Regions from separate parts of the Homo sapiens genome. Here all the other regions are linked to region 1. The links are contacts of gene promoters, found by promoter capture Hi-C in human tissues and cell types (Jung and others, 2019). All regions are on one chromosome and are shown on one strand. The core of a region is centred on a gene start or on the middle of the fragment in contact, and the rest is flanking DNA. Distances in the headings are between cores, read along the strand shown.

What was found. Contacts are between HindIII fragments. The study calls those that stand out against the background at their distance.
Region 2: a fragment that was not itself captured here is called in contact with the fragment with the promoter of TMEM171 in region 1 in 4 of the 25 tissues and cell types used here (IMR-90 fibroblasts, aorta, dorsolateral prefrontal cortex and 1 more).
Region 3: a contact is called between a fragment that was not itself captured here and the fragment with the promoter of TMEM171 in region 1, in 4 of the 25 tissues and cell types used here (H1 embryonic stem cells, IMR-90 fibroblasts, bladder and 1 more).

What each region holds. Positions count from the first base shown.
Region 1 is chr5:73,117,210-73,121,902 of GRCh38, reverse strand. It overlaps TMEM171 (transmembrane protein 171), which reads right to left and starts at 1,328. Exons shown (of 4, transcript NM_173490.8): 1 at 1,207-1,328. It overlaps LOC124901001, which reads left to right and starts at 1,412. Exons shown (of 2, transcript XM_047417978.1): 1 at 1,412-4,693. The coding sequence starts at 1,474. The coding sequence ends at 2,175. RefSeq lists an enhancer at 1,938-2,489. The HindIII fragment of the contact is 7,583 bases long and covers 1-4,693 here.
Region 2 is chr5:73,189,036-73,193,484 of GRCh38, reverse strand. No RefSeq gene overlaps it. Among named protein-coding and RNA genes, the nearest start is that of TMEM174, 18 kb to the right of the region's middle. The HindIII fragment of the contact is 4,970 bases long and covers 1-4,449 here.
Region 3 is chr5:73,206,694-73,211,151 of GRCh38, reverse strand. No RefSeq gene overlaps it. Among named protein-coding and RNA genes, the nearest start is that of TMEM174, 36 kb to the right of the region's middle. The HindIII fragment of the contact is 6,658 bases long and covers 1-4,458 here.

The DNA.
Region 1 (4,693 bases), core at 79-2,578:
AGACTATTTTCACCTGCCCAAGGAAAGAAAACTTTTAAAATATTTTGTGCCGCTCACATCCATGGTCCCATGAAGGAACTCAAGACTGAGGCCCTAAGCCCAAGATGATCTTGACAAACCAAAATCACACTGAGGGAAGGTCAGTTTAGGTAAAGAAAGCAAACAGGCAATCTTACACTGGGAAAAACTTTTCCAGGAAAAAGTATGATAGAATCAGAAGGAAGTTGGAGAAAAAAAGGAAATATAGGAGGGAAAAAAGCTTTCATTTCAAACTTGGAAAAACTTGATATACAGATGCAGTTAAGCTGAGACAAAGCATTGCACTAATTTTTTAATCTTCCCATTTTTTATTAAGTCAGTAACATCCTGCAGTGAATAAGAATTTCATATTGAGTATACAGTAGTCCTCATTTATCCTACAGGGAGTACATTCCAAAACTCTCAGTGGAATGAAACGATGGAGAGTCCTGAAACCTATATATATTGGTTTTTTGTTATTGTTGTTGTTTTAATTTTTTTCCTGAATCATGCAATCTCTTTTGCGGTTTCGGAGACAAGAAAGAGAAGGGTGATTCTCGGCTGCAAAGTCCTATCAGGAATTCATTTATTCCCAGTATAGTCAACTTTGCAGTGAGTCACAAGGCTTCAACTGTCTTAAGGCAAATTCCCAAACACCAGTAAATAGAAGCCCAAAACTGAATCTGTAGTTTCTTGTCCGTGGACTAGTGGACGGAGCACCTGGCTGAGTGTTCACCTCTGATCCATAATAGTGTGGAAATACTCTCTCTCTCTCCTTCTCCCACAGATGCACTCACAAACGGATACAAAGACACCCACATTCACTCGCAATGAAACCTTTTCCAAACACCACCCTACACTTAAACTCCCCAAAGCCAAACTCCCCTCTCCAACACTCCTATTGGTTTTCCAAAAGACATTTCCAAAATTCACAGCACCTCTCCACGTCCAAAGCTATGGTGCGTTTGGGGAACGAAACGAGAGGCAAATGCCTTCTGTGCGAAATCGGTTTGCGGCTTTTAGGGAGCCCGAGCGCAAGCAACAGCCGGAGGGGCTCGCAGGGACGCAGGTTGGGCTCGGATACCCAGCGCCTCCGCGCTGCCGCGGCTCCCCGCGCCCAGCCTGGCCGCACAGCTCAGCGCCCGACCCGCCGCCGCCGGCGCAGGCGCGCGGGCCGGGGCAGCTTACCTGAAGCTGGGTCCGGCGCCTGGCTGACCGCGCTGCTGTGGGCACTGGCTGGGCGCGGCGTCCGCCTCCGCACGCGGCCTCGGCTGCGCCGGCCGCCCTGCACCCTACCCACCGCGCGTCCTGGTGCGGAGGGCGGACCCGGCAGTATTTAGAGAAGGAGGCGGTGCTGCGCGGGCGCGGCGGCCCGGGGAGGGCAGGGCAGGGCAGTGCAGGAGCGACCGGTGGGAGCTGGCCGCCACTGGGGGCCCGGGGCGCGCCCGCGAGGGAATGGAGAGCCAGGGGCGGCTTCGGAACCCAGGGCTGGCGGGTTTGGCAGCCTCCGCGCTCGTGGCCGTGCGCGCGAGGAATCTGGGAGAAATGGGCACCTTCCACGGCTGCCTGGCCCGCACACCTGGCGGGGCCGGCGAGTTGAGATGCCCCCGCCGGCTGGCGGAACTGTGCGCCCCGCCCGCCGAGGCCCGCTCCCCCTCGAGGCCTGAGGCCCAGTTCTATAGGGGCGCGAGAGAGCGGCGGCGTGGGGGGCGCGGAGGAAGCGCCGGCCCCCGCCTCCACCGCCTCCTTCGTGGTTGCGGCCCAGGCCGAACAGGGTACCGTGCCCCGGCCGCCTTGGCCTTGGCCACCGCGAGGTCCGGGGCGACTACACCCAGCAGCCCTGTGGCCCTCCTACTGCTCTGGAGACCTGGAGTGGGGTTACAGAGGGAAGCGACTCGCTGCGAGCTCCCCATCGAATATGGAGCCACCAGGTCACGGGACGACGTGCGCTCTACAGAATGTGAGACAAGGGCCCTCCACACCCAGCCATTCAGGCCTGAGGTCCTGGCTCCGAGACTGAGGCCGAGACGCGGCAAGCCCCGCGCCGGACCAGCTCTGCCCCTCCCGCACCCACGTGTCTGCGCACAGCCCTCCTTTGCGATAGAACCCCCTTCCTGGTTCTCCACCACTAATGATCTGCCGGAATTAAACTGGTAACTTTCCCTGCCCTTGAACCGGGAGTTTCGGGATGAGTTTGCCAATCCCTGTGCTATTTGTAACCAGCCCCGTGACACGTGATACGGATCCAACTGTGCTAGTTTCCACACCAGGGGTCAGGGCACGGTGGAAGGTGAGTCAAGGGTTCTCTGCCCAAGCGCAGAGGTGCCCTGAGCCACGGGGACTTCCCAGCCCTGCCTTCTCTTCTCAGCTTCCTGTCTGCCTTGCCTGAAACCCTATCTAGAGTTAAGGCCAATGGATGAAACTTTTCAATGTGCAAGCAAGCACTTTACCTACCTGATACAACAAGAGATTCCTGGTCATGCTCACTGAAGGTAAAGTATGAAGCAGGCTTAGCTAATCATCAGAGGTGAGAAGAGACTTAAAGAACCAGTCAGAGAGGTAAAGAGGGGAGGGGGTTACCTGGGCTTTAGGGTTCACCAGGGAGGCAGAACGGACAAGTTCTTGCCATTGGAATTTGGTGGGGCACTTGCCTGGGTGGCCAAAGGTGGACTTTTTCATAGCCAGGGTGCCCGACCTCTGTAAATCCCCGCCATAACTAACAGCCCTGATTACTGTCGAAATGAACAATGCCAACACTCACGACCCCTTGCTTTGTGGTTCTTTGCTACATCTCTCCAGCAGTTCAGAAAAGGTTGGAGGCAGCAGGGGACAGGAGACTGAGAAAAACAGTCATTTGTCAGTTGAGGAAACTGAGGTCCAGGCTGACAGAGGTAAAGTAACCTCTGCAGCTGGTTGACATGCAGAGAAGGCCTGAGCCAGATGCAGATGCGCTGACCATTCAGTGTTTCTCCCGCAGCACACCTGTCACTCAGAGAACACACCATGCTGTGAACCCAGAAAACGCCCTCATGGCCTTGTGATGCCAAGCACGTTTAGATTATTATAACAATACAGGCACTGTGTCCCAAGGACATTGCAGTAATCTATGTTTGGGGTGGAGATATCCTTCCTGGTCCAAGTGTCAAGGTATACCACCTTCTGGAAGGGCACCAAAGCATGTCCAGCGAATGGGCAGATACCCAAGAGTGGATTGTACAACAGCAGGCACTGGCTTTCTAAGAACTCAGGCCCTCATTATAGGATTTGTCCCCTCTGACACAGGCCTGTGAACAACTCTTCATTGTGCAAAAGGGTTTCCTTGTCCTTTCCCTACTCATTCTTCCCTTCCCCCTTATTTGAAACTGAATCTCTGGCCATGTCATGTGCAGGCCTGCAAGGGGCCTGTTGATACAGCTGCCCCTCTGGTGCCACATGACTGCAGGCTCACCACCCATGACAGACTTGAATATCCTGGCACCAAGGACAATCAGATTAGCCTCCACTTGGTATATCTGCTGTTCTCACTGTTTGTGTCTATGAGAGCCTGTTTGACTAAATTAAACTCCTTGGAAATTGATCATCGATTATGTATGAAAGACATACCCACCAGCCTTTGAGGTACTTATCTTTGTAGCCCACCTAGCCTTAGGAGAGAAGCTGCGTGGCCTGGTCACTATCTAGTGGTCTTCCCTGGCCTGTGTGGTAGTGAAAAAGATAAAAGCCAGACCGAATCCTTAGAAAAACAGCATCAGAACAAGATTAAAAACCTCGAATTCAGTGACTGTAGAAGCATAAAGCAGAGGCATGTGTTCATGTATTTAGCCAGCACAGATTTACCAACTACCAATAAAACACGGAACTTGTATTTTATTGAGGAGAAAGGCAATAAAATATGTAAGTTATACAGAGAATTAGAAAGTGATTGAGTGCCAGGGAGAACAATAAATCACAGATGGGGACTGGGGAGCACCCCATTTTAAATAGGGGAGTTAAGGAAGGCATCTCTGAGAAGGTGAGATTGCAGCAAAAACTTGAAGGGAATGAGGAAGCAAGTGTATCAATGATCTATTATTGCATAACAACTTACCCCAAAACTTTGAAGTTTGAAACAGCAAAAATGTATTCTCAGGGTTTCTGATCAGGGTCAGAAACTGCAAGTGGCTTAGCTGGGTACTTCTGGCTGAGCCTCTCAGAGGCTGCAGTCTAGCAGTTGGCCAGGGCTGTGGTCATCTGAAGGCTGGACTGGGGCTGGAGGATCTGCTGCCAAGGTGGCACATTCACAGGGCTATTGGCAGGAGGCCTCAGTTCCTCACTATGTGGATTTCTCCACCCAGCCTCCCCTCACGTGAGTGATCCAAGGGAGAGCAAACAAAGGGGAAGCTGTGGTGCCTTTTCTGACGAGGCTCTGCACTTCCATACCATCACTTCTCTTTATTCTGGTCCTTAGAATTGAGTCACAAAGTCAAGGGGAATGGGATTAGGTGCCACCTCTTGTAGGGAAGAGTAAGAATTTGTAAGCATAGTTCGTGATTTTTTGTGGGAAGTAGGGAAGAGTGCTTCAGGCAGAAGTAACCACAGGTGCAAAGGCCCTGAGGTAGGAACACACATATTAGCATATTCAAAGGAGAGCAAGAGGCCAGGGTGGCTGCAGTTGGTGAGCAAGGGGGAGAGTAGG
Region 2 (4,449 bases), core at 860-3,359, 71 kb before region 1:
GACATGATCTACCTGCAGGAACAATGGGAGAAAAAGTGAGAGGTGACTTGAAGTGGCACACTAAGACAAGTGATCAAATGTTAGAATAATTTCAAGGATGGCTATTGCCCTAGAAAGCAAGAACCCTCCAGAACTAGTTTCATCCTTTCTATACTTTCACCACAGGCTAAGCATGGTATCCCCAGCCTTATCAAGTCAAATTTTAAACTGCTTAATGCCACCTCCCTCTGTCCACCCCCACATCATGCTGATTTTATAAGGAGATTGCCTGTATTTAAATCCAGCTCTATTACTTACTACCTGTGTGTACCTGTGTGAAAACTGGTAAGGTTTTTTTGTTTGGTTAGTTTTTGGTTTTTGAGACAGAGTCTCGCTGTGTTGCTCAGGCTAGAGTACAGTGGTGTGATCTTGGCTCTCTGCAACCTCCACCTCCCAGGTTCAAGCAATTCTCGGCCTCAGCCTCCTGAGTAGCTGGGGTTACAGGCGCTCACCACCATGCCTGACTAATTTTTGTATTTTTAGTAGAGATGGGGTTTCGCCATGTTGGCCAGGCTGGTCTCACACTCCTGGCCTCAAGTGATCCACCTGCTTGAGCCTCCCAAAGTGCTGAGATTACAGGTGTGAGCTATTGTGCCTGGCCCCAAGAGCTCTTTTTGGAGTTAAGAAATTTCCATCAAGTGAGGACACTTTGGAAGGAAAACTCCTGGAAAATAGGGCTTTCCCGGCATCCTTGGAGTTGAACAGAGCTGAAGTTGGCCAGAACTGCCATGGGAAACCATGGGAGAATTTACTAAGAGAGTCTTTAGTCCTAGATCACAGGGAGGGGAGATATAAACAGGACTGCCCATATCACGTGCTAATTATGTCCCAGGCATTATATCCTTTGATTCTCCCAATAAACCTATGCCATAAACAGTAGCATCAATTTCATTTCACAGATGTGGACATTGACACTTTACCGAGGGCAAGAACCTTGCCCAAGTGTATTAGTCCATTCTCCTACTGCTATGAAGAAATACTTGAGACTGAGTAATTTATAAAGAAAAGACGTTTAATTGACTCACAGTTCCACATGGCTGGGGAGGCCTCAGGAAACTTACAATCATGGCAGAAGGTGCCTTTTCACAGTGCAGTAGGAGAGAGAATGAGTGCCAGCAGGGGAAATGCCAGACGCTTATAAAACCATCAGATCTCATGAGAACTCACTCATTAGCTCTAGAACAGCATGGGAGAAACTGGCTCCATGATTCAATTACCTCCCACCAGGTTCCTCCCACAGCACGTGGGGATTATGGGGATTATAATTCAAGGTAAGATTTGGGTGGGGATGCAGCCAAACCCTATCATCAAGGCTATATATAGCACAGTGGTAGAGCAAAACTTTGAGCCCATTTTGACTCCGGAACTTATTTTCTTAATCACTATTCTAGGTCCTTAAAGAAAAGGACTGAACTGGAACCTTACAGTTCAAATATATCCTGCTAAAAGTATTAGTTATCTCCTGATCCATGAAACAAGCACACATCATGGCCCGGTGATAGAGAGCCTGTCAGATCAGGCTGTGGGGAACAGGAAGGAGACCAGGCTCGCCCTGCTGGTTTTCACTGGTGAAGGCAGTAAAATCGGAGATAGACCGGAGCCTGCAATAATACCACTGCCACCATTTATGGAGCGCCGTGCTAAACAGCAGCTGAGTCTCACAGCAACATTAAGAGGCTGGGACTATTAACCCCACTTGTCGGATCAAAGAGACAGAGGCATGACAATTTTCAGGGACGTGTTCACAGCCACTCAGCCAGTCAGGGGCCAAGTCTTTTGGCTACAGGAAATTGGCTGCTCTGCTCCTACTGCCTGTGGACCAGAGACCTGGTGACTGCACATGAGTGTTAGGCCACCCGAGGACCCAGACTGTGAACTCAGCCTGCATTCTGGCTCACCAGGACAGTTTCGGGAGCCCTCTTTGACTATTGCCTTTGACAAGGCTGAAGATGGGCTAAGACCAGAATCCTCAACCAAATTTAAAACTACTTAAGCTTGGAATATTCCGTTCTTTTCTGTGGCTGTAAGTCTCCCTCTCAGCACCCAGAGCCTTTCTCCTGACTGGTGGCTGCCTGCATGGTTTGCCAACGCAGCATCCACTCTGCATTTGTTCCACAAAGCGCTGCTAAGTGCCTCCTTTGTGCCTAACACTGGGCCTTTGGTGGAGATCAGACGGCCATTTGACCTGGGGCCCTACCTTGAGCAAGGATGAGGCCACATTGGAAATGCTGATTTTGCCCATAAACTCATGCTCCAAGTTGTTTCACAGTAATTAAAAATTCAGCAAAGGAAAAAAAATTCCCAGCAGACACCATAGGTGGGAAACCTCTGTGTAGAAGCTGGTGAAAAACCAATCCTCCAGTTCTAATGGCACCTGGATCTGAGAAAGAAAGGGACTTGGACTCCACAGACAGGGGGCAGAGACTTTATGAGTCATCCCGGTGAGGATAATGGGCATTGAAACACGGCTTTGCAAACTCTGAAGTGATGCATGAGTGTTTGTTGGTTGCTATTTTAATTACATAAAATACATATCTAAGACAATATCCAAGAAATGAAGATTAGGAACTAGAGCAGATTAACAGGAGAGAAATCTGGGATCATGTAAACTGTTCAGGAGCCCCAAATAATAGAATGTCTTATTTTTTTTTTTACCCAGTCTACAGGCAACCCTAGTCACAGGAGGCTGGTGTGAGGGCCACTTTCTAGATTTCCTTTTGACATGTCTTTTTTTTCCTAGAAGGCATCCCCATCTCCCTATTGTCCTCTGCTAACTCTTTGCATCTCCACCTCCACCTAGGACTATGAAATATGTCTTTGCAGGTCATACTCAGCACAGCTACAGGGAGTGCCATTCACATCAAAGTCTACATGAATGAGACCACTGGGCCTTAAACTCAGCTGCATGTTGGAAACATTTGGAGGAAATTTAAACATTATTGATGTCTTAGTCCCTCCTCCAGGTTGTCTGATGTAATTGTTCTGAGTTGCATCCTGGCTTGGGATTTTTTTAAATGCCCAAGTAATTCTAATATGCACCCACCATGTTTGAGAACCAGTAAATTAGACTATGCTGTGAATGGTGCCCACTGAGGATGTGTGGTAGATAGTCTGCATAGCCCTTCAGATGAGCCCCGCCCACCCCAGCTGGCCTGATGCAATCCCCAGTGACCTGAACTTGCTAATGGAACAGATCACAGACTAAATACATACCTCTCTGCCTTTTACGTTGTTTTCCCTTGGGTCGGGATTGGGGTTTGGGAAAGTGTAGGGACTGAACTGTGATCCTTTAAGGAATCCCTTACACTTTCTGCATCCTTCTGAGGAATGAAGGAGAGGCAAGGGTCTAATCCTGCTGAAAAACTGGGAATTTTTTCAAGGCCAGTTTTGGAGGCTGCCCAACTCTGGTGCTCTGCCCAGGGTGAGCATGCTGTTTTGATCGCCTGACTAAGAGAGTGATTTAGGCTTTTGGAAGAATCTGGCTCATTTCCCCCGGTACCTCAGCCATTCCCGGCTTGTAAATCAGCCACCTTTAGCAGCTGCATTTTACTTTCCCAGGCCACAAGGGAACTGTGTAGTTTTTACTGAATTAGCAACTTAATTGCACCAAATATAGCTCTAATGCTCCCAAAGAACTCGTGGCAGCTCCCAAAGGTGTCTGGCTTCCTGCTCTTCCTCCCTCCCATCCTGTCCCCACCAAACTCAGGGACCAGGTTAAATTCTGGAAAATTCGAGCTTATTAAGTCACAGCCTCTGGAATGAACTTACTTTACTTTGTTTATGTCAAATCTTGCCATATGAATTTAATGTCACTGTGTCCATAACAACTGATGTCCTTCAAGTAGGAAGATGGGGGATCAAAAAAAATCCCACAAAAATCCAGCCATATGAGACAAATATGTGATACAAACAAGTCCTTGGTGTCATGGTTTAGTTAAAGCTTGCCTATTTTACAGCTCAGATGCTCTGTAACTCATTGACAGCTCTCCTGCTGATAAGTGCATCTGTTATTCTAAAGTTACAAGTCAAACTTCTTTAGCCAAAACCTTGCATCTGTCATGTGTATTTATACTTGGCATTTCAAAGTTAATATTTTTGGTTCAGCAGAGGAATTCAAAACAAACATTTTTTCTTAAATTCCAAATTCTTGAGCAGTTATTTGAATCCAGACAGAAGGAAGAGAGAGACAGAGAAACAGAGAGACAGAGAGAGAGGACCAAGTATGGAACAGGCTGCTAGTTGCCTACCTAACAATTATTCTACCCTTTTCCCTTTGTAACAGAACAGCAACCAAGAAGACTACATTTCCCAGACTCCTGCGCAGCTTAGTGTGGCCATCTGGCCAAATTCTGGTCAGAAGGTGGAAGTGTTAAGTACAGCATGGATCTTTCAGGAAGGCTTTCTTTAAGA
Region 3 (4,458 bases), core at 824-3,323, 89 kb before region 1:
GTGCTGGTTTTCAAAGGGAATGCTTCCAGCTTTTGCCCATTCAGTATGATATTGGCCGTGGGTTTGTCATAAGTAGCTCTTATTATTTAGAGATATGTTCCATCAATACCTAGTTTATTGAGAGTTTTTAGCTTGGAGGGGTGTTTAATTTTGTTGAAGGCCTTTTCTGCATGTATTGAGATAATCATGTGGTTTTTGTCATTGGTTCTGTTTATGTGATGGATTATGTGTATTGATTTATATATGTTGAACCAGCTTTGCATCCCAGGGATGAAGCTGACTTGATGGTGGTGGATATGCTTTTAGATATGTTGCTGGATTCAGTTTGCCAGTATTTTATTGAGGATTTTTGCATCGATGTTCATGAGGGATATTGGCCTGAATTTTTCTTTTTTTGTTGTGTCTCTGCCAGGTTTTGGTATCAGGATGATGCTGGCCTCATAAAATGAGTTAGGGAGGAGTCCCTCTTTTTCTATTGTTTGGAATAGTTTCAGAAGGAATGGTACCAGCTTGTCTTTGTACCTGTGGTAGAATTCGGCCATGAATCCATCTGGTCCTGAGCTTTTTTTGGTTGGTAGGCTATTAATTACTGCCTCAATTTCAGAACTTGTTATTGGTCTATTCAGGGATTTGACTTCTTCCTGGTTTAGTCTTGGGAGGGTGTGTGTGTCCAGGAATTTATCCATTTCTTCTAGATTTTCTAGTTTATTTGCATAGAGATGTTTATAGTAGTCTCTGATTATAGTTTGTATATCTGTGGGATCAGTGGTGATATCCCCTTTATCATTTTTTATTGTGTCTACTTGATTTTTCTCTGTTTTCTTCTTTATCAGTCTGGCTGGCAGTCTATCTATTTTGTTAATCTTTTCAAAAAAACAGCTCCTGGATTCATTGAATTTTTGAAGGGTTTTTCGTGTCTCTGTCTCCTTCACTTCTGCTCTGATCTTAGTTATTTCTTGTCTTCTGCTAGCTTTTGAATTAGTTTGCTCTTGCTTCTCTAGTTCTTTTCATTGGGATGTTAGGGTGTCGATTTTAGATCTTTCCTGCTTTCTCCTGTGGGCATTTAGTGCTATAAATTTTCCTCTAAACACTGCTTTAGCTGTGTCCCAGAGATTCTCACACGTTGTGTCTTTGTTCTCATTGGTTTCAAAGAACTTATTTATTTCTGCCTTCTTTCGTTATTTACCCAGTAGTCATTCAGGAGCAGGTTGTTCAGTTTCCATGTAGTTGTGCAGTTTTGAGTGGGTTTCTTAATCCTGAGTTCTAATTTGATTGCACGGTGGTCTGATAGACTGTTTGTTATGATTTCTGTTCTTTTGCTGAGGAGTGTTTTACTTCCAATTATGTGGTCAGTTTTATAATAAGTGTGATGTGGTGCCAAGAAGAATGTATATTCTGTTGATTTGAGGTGGAGAGTTCTATAGATGTCTATTAGGTCCACTTGGTCCAGAGCTGAGTTCTAGTCCTGAATATCCTTGTTAATTTTCTGTCTTGTTGATTTGTCTAATATTGACAGTGGGGTGTTAAAATCTCCCACTATTATTGTGTGGGAGTCTAAGTCTCTTTGGAGGTCTCTAAGAACTTGCTTTATGAATCTGGGTGCTCCTGTATTGGGTGCATATATATTTAGGATAGTTAGCTCTTCTTGTTGCATTGATCCCTGACCATTATGTAATGTCTTTCTTTGTATTTTTTTTATCTTTGTTGGTTTAAAGTCTGTTTTATCAGAGACTAGGATTGCAACCTCTGCTTTTTTTGCTTTCCATTTGCTTGGTAAATATTCTTCCATCCCTTTATTTTGAACCTATGTGTGTCTTTGCACATGAGATGGGTCTCTTGAATACAGCACACCAATGGGTCTTGACTCTTTATCCAATTTGCCAACCAGTGTCTTTTAATTGGGGCATTTAGCCCATTTACATTTCAGGTTAATATTTTTATGTGTGAATTTGATCCATCATTATGATGCTAGCTGGTTATTTTGCCCATTGGTTGATGCAATTTCTTCATGGTGTAGATGGTCTTTACAATTTGGCATCTTTTTGTAGTGGCTGGTGCAGGTTTTTCCTTTCCATATTTAGTGCTTCCTTCAGGAGATCTTGTAAGGCAGGCCTGGTGGTGACAAAATCTCTCAGCATTTGCTTGTCTGTGAAGGATTTTATTTCTCCTTTGTTTTTGAAGCTTAGTTTGGCTGGATATGAAATTCTGGGTTGAAAATTACTTTCTTTAGGAATGTTGAATATTGGCCCCCCACTTTCTTCTGGCTTGTAGGGTTTCTGCCAAGAGATCTGCTGTTAGTCTGATGGGCTTCCCTTTGTGAGTAACCCAACCTTTCTCTCTGGCTGCTCTTTTTCCTTCATTTCAACCTTGGTGAATCTGACAATTATGTGTCTTGGGATTACTCTTCTCGAGGAGTATCTTTGTGGTGTTCTCTTTATTTCCTGAATTTGAATATTGGCCTGTCTTGCTAGGCTGGGGAAGTTCTCCTGGATGATATCCTGAAGAGTGCTTTCCTAGTTGGTTCCATTCTCCCCATCACTTTCAGGTACACTAATCAAACATAGGTTTGGTCTTTCCACATAGTCCCATATTTCTTGGAGGCTTTGTTCATTCCTTTTCATTCTTTTTTCTCTAATCTTGTCTTCATGCTTTATTTCATTAAGTTGATCTTCAATCTCTGATATCCTTTCTTCTGCTTGATCGATTTGGCTATTCATACTTGTGTATGCTTCAGGAAGTTCTCATGCTGTGTTTTTCAGCTCCATCAGTTCATCTATGTTCTTCTCTAAACTGGTTATTCTAGTTAACAATTCCTCTAACCTTTTTCAAGTTTCTTAGCTTCCTTGCATTGGGTTAGAACATGCTCCTCTAGCTCATAGGAGTTTGTTATTACCCACCTTCTGAAGTCTACTTCTGTCAATTTGTCAAACTCATTCTCCATCCAGTTTTGTTCCCTTGCTGGCAAGGAGTTGTGATCCTTTGGAGGAGAAGAGGCATTCTGGGTTTTGCAATTTTCAGCTTTTTTTGTGGTGGTTTTTCCTTATCTTCGTGGATTTATCTACCTTTGGTCTTTGATGTTGGTAAGCTTCGGATGGGGTTTTTGTGTGGACAACCTTTTTGTTGATGTTGATGCTATTCCTTTCTGTTTGTTAGTTTTCCTTCTAATAGTCAGGCCTCTCTGCTGCAGGTCTGCTAGAGTTTGCTGGAGGTCCACTCCAGACTCTGTTTGCCTGGGTATCACCCATGGAGGCTGCAGAACAGCAAAGACTGCTGCCTGTTCCTTCCTCTGGAAGCTTCATCCCAGAGGGGCACCTGCCAGATGCCAGTTGGAGCTCTCCTTTATGAAATGTCTGTCGACCCCTGCTGGGAGGTATCTCCCAGTCAGGAGGCACAGGGGTCAGGGACCCACTTGAGGAGGCAGTCTGTCCCTTAGCAGAGCTCAAGTACTGTGCTGGGAGATCTGCTGCTCTCTTCAGAGCTGGCAGGCAGGAACGTTTAAGTCTGCTGAAGGTGCACCCACAGCTGCCCCCTTACCCCAGGTGCTCTGTCCCAGGGAGATGGGAGTTTGATTTATAAGCCCCTGACTGGGTCTACTGTCTTTCTTTCAGAGATGCCCTGCCCAGAGAGGAGGAATCTAGAGAGGCAGTCTGGCTACAGCAGCTTTGCCAAGCTCCTGGGCTCCACCCAGTTCAAACTTCCCGGCGGGTTTGTTTACACTGTGAGGGGAAAACCACCTACTCAAGCCTCAGTAATGGTGGACGCCCCTCCTCCCACCAAGCTCCAGCATCCCAGGTCGACTTCAGACTGCTGTGCTGGCAGGGAGAATTTCAAACCAGTGGATCTTAGCTTGCTGTGCTCCATGGGGGTGGGATCCAGTGAGCTAGACCACTTGGCTTTCCTGGCTTCAGCCCCCTTTTCAGGGGGTTAACGTTTCTGTCTCACTGGCATTCCAGGTGCCACTGGGGTATGAAAAAAAAACTCCTGCAGCTAGCCCAGTGTCTGCCCAAATGGCTGCCCTGTTCTGTGCTTGAAACCCAGGGCCCTAGTGGTGTAGGCACCCGAGGGAATTTCCTGGCCTGTGGGTTGTGAAGACCATGGGAAAAGCGTAGTATCTGGGCCAGAATGCACCATCCCTCACGGCACAGTCCCTCACGGCTTCCCTTGGCTAGGGGAGGGAGTTCCCCGACCCCCTGTGCTTCCCGGGTGAGGCGACAGCCCACCCTGCTTCTGCTCACCCTCTGTGAGCTGCATCCATTCACTGTCTAACCAGTGCCAATGAGATGAGCCAGGTACCTCAATTGGAAATGCAGAAATCACCCGCCTCCTGCGTTGATGTCACTGGAAACTGCAGACCAGACCTGTTCCTATTTGGCCATCTTGCCAGCCCTCTTCTTTCTTCTTTTTTGCCTTCCACCAACATTTGCTACCAGGCAAGTGGAAGTAGGTGTCATAGGTTGG